Linked DNA regions of Homo sapiens: region 1 is linked to region 2. The links are contacts of gene promoters, found by promoter capture Hi-C in human tissues and cell types (Jung and others, 2019). All regions are on one chromosome and are shown on one strand. The core of a region is centred on a gene start or on the middle of the fragment in contact, and the rest is flanking DNA. Distances in the headings are between cores, read along the strand shown.

The links. The method cuts DNA at HindIII sites, captures the fragments that hold promoters and counts their contacts. A contact is called where the count stands out against the background at its distance.
Region 1: a fragment that was not itself captured here is called in contact with the fragment with the promoter of MED18 in region 2 in 1 of the 25 tissues and cell types used here (dorsolateral prefrontal cortex).

What each region holds. Positions count from the first base shown.
Region 1 is chr1:28,753,040-28,756,337 of GRCh38, forward strand. All of the region lies in intron 4 of YTHDF2 (YTH N6-methyladenosine RNA binding protein F2), which reads left to right. Among named protein-coding and RNA genes, the nearest start is that of YTHDF2, 18 kb to the left of the region's middle. RefSeq lists an enhancer at 1,472-1,971. The HindIII fragment of the contact is 8,261 bases long and covers 1-3,298 here.
Region 2 is chr1:28,327,424-28,330,672 of GRCh38, forward strand. MED18 (mediator complex subunit 18) reads left to right here and starts at 1,617. Exons shown (of 3, transcript NM_017638.3): 1 at 1,617-1,757; 2 at 3,174-3,249. The coding sequence starts at 3,240. RefSeq lists enhancers at 1,651-2,158, 2,159-2,666. The HindIII fragment of the contact is 33,273 bases long and covers 1-3,249 here.

The DNA.
Region 1 (3,298 bases), core at 32-2,531, 430 kb after region 2:
CCCTAGAAAAAAAAATTTTTTTGAGGAAATATTCTAATATTTGAAAAACTATTACCCAGTTTAGCAAAGAAGTTGCTCAAAACATGTTTCATGTTTGTATATTGGAACTTACACCTGGAGAGCCACTGAGTCTCTAACCCCGAAGCTCATGGACTACTCCATGATCTATGAAGTTTGCCAGATAGAAAAGTAGAGAAATGGCTAGGTGCAGTGGCTCATGCCCGTAATCCTCGCACTTTGGGGAGGCTGCAGCAAGAGAATCACTTGAACCCAGGAGTTTGAGACCAGCCTAGGCAACATAATGAAATCCTGCCTCTCCAAAAAAAAAAAAAAAAAAAAAAAAAAAAAAAAAAAAAAAATCAGCCAGGTGTGATGAGGCACACCTGTAGTCCTAGTTGCTCAGGAGGCTGAGACAGGAGGATTGCTTGAGCCCGGGACGTCAAGTCTGCAGTGAGTCATGATGGTACCACTGTACTCCAGTCTGGGCACAGTGAGACCCTGTCTTCCAAAAAATGGCATTCTAGTAAGAGCATGTTAAAAACATAGTCTTGAGAATGCTTATGGTATGTTTTCAGAATGAGAAGTTTAATGTGGTCTAGAATGGTAAGTGATAACGCTGGAGAGATTGGTTGGGCAAGTATATGAAGAGTTTCAGGATTTTATTCTTTTTTTTTTTTTTTTTCTGAGACAAAAATCTCGCTTTGTCCCCCAGGCTGGAGTGCAATGGCGCGATCTTGGCTCGCTGCAGCCTCCCCCTCCCAGGTTCAAGCGATTCTCCTGCCTCAGCCTCCCGAGTAGCTGGGATTACAGGTGCCTGTCACCACGCCCAGCTAATTTTTGTATTTTTAGTGGTGACAGGGTTTCATCATGTTGGCTAGGCTGGTCTCAAACTCCTGACCTCAGGTGATCTGCCTGCCTTGGCCTCCCAAAGTGCTGGGATCACAGGTGTGAGCCACTGCGCTCGGCCTAGGATTTTATTCTTTACCTGTGTTTTAGTTTGGTTGTAAGGGAGGGTAGTTAATTAGGGAATAACAGTTTGGAGGATGGGAAGGATGAAACACTTACTGAGCATTGACCTTGTTAAGCACCATGCTAGGTACTTTCATAGCCTTACTTTAATCCCCATACCAACCTGGGAGGCAGTATCCTGTATTTATAGATCAACAAATGGAAGCTTAGGAAAGCAACTTATCAAAACATCTATGAGGCTGGGTGAGTTGGCTCACGCCTCTAATTCCAGCACTTTGGGAGGCCAAGGTTGGCAGGTCATTTGAGGCCATGAGTTTGATACCAGCCTGGCCAACATGGCGAAACACTGTCTCTACTAAAAATACAAAAAAATTAGCCGGGCGTGGTGACGGGCGCCTGTAGTCCCAGCTACTCAGGAGGCTGAGGCAGGAGAATGGTGTGAACACTGGAGGCGGAGTTTGCAGTGAGCTGAGATAGCGCTACTGCACTCCAGCCTGGGCGAAAGAGCGAGACTGTGTCTCAAAAAAAAAATTGGCCGGGCGCGGTGGCTCATGCCTGTAATCCCAGCACTTTGGGAGGCTGAGGTGGGTAGTTCGCAAGGTCAGGAGTTCAAGACCAGCCTGGCAACATGGTGAAACCCCATCTCTACTAAAAAATTAGCTGGGCGTGGTGGTGGGTGCCTGTATTCAGGGGGCTGGGGCAGGAGAATCACTTGAAACCAGAAGGCGGCAGTTGCAGTGAGCCGAGATTGCTCCACTGCACTCCAGCCTGGGCAATGAGAGCAAAACTTCGTCTCAAACAAACAAAAAAATTAGCCAAGAGTGGTGGTGTGTGCCTATAGTCCTATAGTCCCAGCTACTCAGGGAGCTGAGGGATGAGAATCACTTGAACCTGGGAGGCAGAGGTTACAGTGAGCCGAGATCGCAACACTGCATTCCAGCCTGGGTGACAGCTCAAAAAAAAAAAAAAAAAAAAAGGGGTGGGAGATGGCTCAGAGACTAAACGAGATGCTTTTACAGTATTCTGGGGAAAAAAAGATGATGAGGGCCTGAACCAGGACAGTGGGAACGGGAAACTGGATATGAAGAATGTGGTAGACATATTTGTTGACTAGTTTTTCAAAAATTAAAGATGATGAGAGGAGCAGCAGTTTAGGGTTAGGATTTGGGGTTGTATTGGCTTTTGGAAATAGTTTCAGGTGCCTGTGATAGTAGCAGCAGCCAGGTGATAGTAGGCAGCTGGGAATCTGGAGCTCAGATTGTTGACAGGAATTTGAATTTTCAACCCTCAGGATAGGTAAAGGCATGGAAGAGTTTGACTTTTCAAAGATTCTTGTAATAAGAATGGCTAACAGTTATTGAATGCTCTGTACAGTGTCTAGCATACAGTTGTCTTGAATATATATTTAAATGTATGTTCATTTAATTCTTGTATCCTTGTGAGGTAGGTATAAGTAGCTCAGTTTTACTGATGAAAACATTAAAACACAGAAAAGAGTAAATAACTTTGCAAAGGCACATGAGATACGAAAGTAAAGCTGGTGTTCTAATTCTGCAGCGTGGTTCTAGAGCCAACACGAGTGAGAGAAAAGGACTATGGAAAAAGTTCCCCAGAAATAACAAAATTTGAAGAATAAAGAGGGAGCAAGTGAAAGAGATTGAGAGAGAATAGTTTGAGTTTCAGAAAGAGAACAAGGAAGGGGCTATTCAGGTTGAGTATTCCTAATTTGAAAATCTGAAATGCCCCAAAGTCTGAAACTGAGTGCACACATGACACTGAAGAAAATGTTCATTGGAGCATTTCCTATTTTGGATTTTCAGATTAGGGTTGCTCAACCAGTATGTATCTACAAATATTCAAAAAATCTGAAATCCAAAACATTTCTTACCCCAAGAATTTCAGATAGGGGATACACAGCCTGTATGGAACTTCAAGCAGTATGGTAGAGTACACTTAACTCAGAGGCTGCAGAGAGGTAACAGATGACTGCAGATGCCAGTGATGTCTGTTGAATAAAAAGTTGCTTTGCTATTAGAGACTTGAAAGTTTTGATCTCCGTACTTCATTCAAAAGACTCTGCATGTTTCTTTATCTTTGTGTTTGCAGAGTCGGTATCTTTCAACCTCTGTTCCAAGCCTTAAAGAGCTATTATAAAGCTCTTTTGTTTGCCTAGTATGGGCTGTTTTGGTGAAATAGACTATGTAAAAATGTCTGAAATACAGAGTTGAATATGAAGAATGGCAGCATTTTGATTTTGATGTGGCTAAAGATTGATCCAGGGAGGACTGCTATTTTTCCATGCTTAAACATTTGTGGGACAAGGGCTAGT
Region 2 (3,249 bases), core at 367-2,866:
CATATATATATAGAGGACAGAGTCTTGCTCTGTAGCCCAGGCTGGAGAGCAGTGGTGCAATTTCAGCTCACTACAACCTCTGCCTCCTGGGTTCAAGCAATTTTGGTCTCTTGACCACCTGAGCCACCTGAGTAGCTGGGACTACAGGCGTGTGCCACCACACCCGGCTAATTTCCTCTTTTTACTTTTTTTTTTGAGCCGGAGTCTTGCTCTGTCGCCCAGGCTAAAGTGCAGTGGTGCGATCTCGGCTCACTGCCAGCTCTGTCTCCCAGGTTCACACCATTCTCCTGACTCAGCCTCCCAAGTAGCTGGGACTACAGGCGCCCGCCACTACGCCCAGCTAATTTTCTGTATTTTTAGTAGAGACAGGGTTTCACCGTTAGCCAGGATGGTCTCGATCTCCTGACCTCGTGATCCACCCCCCTCGGCCTCCCAAAGTGCTGGGATTACAGGCGTGAGCCACCGCGCCTGTCCTCTTTTTACATTTTTAAAATCTTTTTCTGACATTTGTTTCTCAGCTGGAGTTGTACCAAAGCGCCTAACTGGTCGTTTTTCTTTAATTTTTTTCCAGACAGGATCTCCCTCTGTTGCACAGGCTGGAGTGCAGTGGCGCTATCTCAGCTCACTGCAACCTCTGCCTCCTGGACTCAAGCAATCCTCCCACCTCAGCCTCCCAAGTAGCTGGGACTGCAGGTGCGAGCCACTACGTTCAGCTAATTTTTTGTATTTTTTGTAGACACAGGGTTTCACCATGTTGTTCAGGCTGGTCTTGAATTCCTGAACTCAAGCCATCTGCCCGCCTTGGCCTCCCAAAGTGCTGGGATTACAGGCCTGAGCCACCGTGTCCGGCCTGGTCTTTTTTCTCTAGGCTCTCTCCTTTCCCAAACTTTTCTCCATGTTGTAGCCAGGGTTCTTTTAAAGCTCACATGTATTCTTTGGTATGGCACTGCAGAGTACTCCTGGATCTGGACCTACTCCTTTTCCAGACTCTTTTTTTTTTTTGAGACAGAGTCTCTCTCTGTAGCCCAGGCTACAATGCAGTGGCGCGATCTCGGTTCGCTGCAACTTCCGCCTCCCGCGTTCAAGCGATTCTCCCACCTCAGCCTCCCTAGTAGCTGGGATTACAGGCGCGCGTCACCATGCCCGGCTAATTTTTGTATTTTTAATGGAGACGGAGTTTTACCATCTTGGCCAGGCTGGTCTCGAACTCCTGACCTCAAGTGATCCGCCTGCCTCGGCCTCCCAAAGTGCTGGGGTTACAGGCGTGAGCCACCGCGCCCAACCCCTCAGTTCTTTTTTCTTTTGAAACCCACTATAATCTCTGTAAGTCCTATCAGTTCCAAGAGACTTTCTACACAAATACATCTCCAGGTTGTCAAACCTAAAAAGATTTTCCTAGAGCATGGCCTATGACGTCAAGGATCCAGGTAGCGCCCGGAGGAAAGCGCCAAAGGAGGCCGCCATCTTTCATACAGCAGCCCGGAATTTTGCGCATGCGCCTCTGATTGTCTGTCCGCAATGAAGCTCTTCGGCCTTCTCGGCACCCATACGTTTGGGAACGGCAGTTTCGAGGTTTGTGAGACGTCGGCTTCCGACCGGAAGTGAGAAGAGGAGGAAGTTGGCTGGTTGCACCGATCTGGGGGCTTCCCGGGCTCGGGTAACCGGAGTGCTGGTATCTAATCGTCGCTCAAAAGCTCCTAGGTGCGCGGGTGGATATAATTCCCGGCTTCTCGAGAAGACACTACAGCCTCAAGGAGGTGTGCTTCTAGTGTTTAATTGGATACGTGTTATGGATGCCGGCTTAGAAGGACCTATATACCATCATCTTAAAATAACTTCCCCTTGGCTCTCTCTCTCTTTTTTTTTTTTTTTTTTTTTTTGAGACGGAGTTTCGCTCTTGTTGCCCAGGCTGGAGTGCAATGGCGCGATCTCGGCTCACCGCAACCTCGCCTTCCGGGTTCAAGCGATTCTCCTGCCTCAGCCTCCTGAGGAGCTGGGATTACAGGCGCTCGCCACCAGGCCTGGCTAATTTTTTGTATTTTTAGTAGAGTCGGGGTTTCTTCATGTTGGTCAGGCTGGTCTCGAACTCCCAACCTCCAGTTGATCCGCCGGCCTCGGCCTCCCAAAGTACTGAGATTACAGGCGTGAGCCACCGCGCCCGGCCTTGGCTCTCTTTAAAAGGCATTTTTAGGCTAGCCGCAGTGTGGTCTCCCGCCTGTAGTAGTCCCAGCTACTCGGCTTGAGCCCAGGAGTTCGAGGTTATAGTGAGCTAGGAACTCCCCACTGCACTGCAGCCTGGGCTACAGAGCGAGATCCTGTCACCAAAAAAGAAAAGCGTACGGGGGAAGGCATTTTCAGAGAGATAGAACGCCTAGATGTTAGTTTGGTCCAAACTCTGCTACCAACTTGCTGTGTGTATCCTTCTGTCCCTCTCCAAGTCTCAATATCCTCATCTATAAAACGAAGGTCCCTTAAGTCACTTTTTCAGTTCTTCTGAATTTTGTTGCCTCTTTATTATCTCGTTTGAGCCACATAGCCTTGGGAGTTAAAAATCACTGGCCTTTGGCCGGGCACGGTGGCTCACACCTGTAATGCCAGCACTTTGGGAGGCCGGATCACCTGAGTATCACCTGAGGCCAGGAGTTCGAGGCCAACCTGGCCAACATGACGAAACCCCGTCTCTACTAAAAATACAAAAAAAATTAGCTGGGCTTGGTTGCGGGCGCCTGTAATCCCAGCTACTCGGGAGGCTGAGACAGGAGAATCGCTTGAACCTGGGAGGCAGAGGCTGCAGTGAACAGAGATTGCGCCATTGCACTCCAGCCTGGGCGACAAGAGTGAAACTCCGTCTCAAAAAAAAAAAAAAAAAAAAATCACTGGCCTCATTTTATAAGGAAGACATTGAGTCCCAGGGTGAGGGGTTATAGATAGGACTTTCTCAAGATTGCACAGGTAATGTGGAGGTTTCAGAACTTGAGACTAGAAGGTAATGCTGTAACTCCATGACCAGATCTCCTTTCTATATTTCTGTGTCATCAGTTCCTGGAACTGGCCATATAAGGAAATACTCAAACGTTTTTGAATGAATGAATCTTTGATTTGAAGGCCAGTGCCACAACAGATCTGGTCTCTCTCCACCACTTTGATGTATAAACAAGTGAACTCTTTTCCAGGTATATCCCGTGCCTTACCTGACTGGGGGCTCTGAGTCCAGTTGTGTTGTCTTCAACTTAGACACCATGGAGGCAC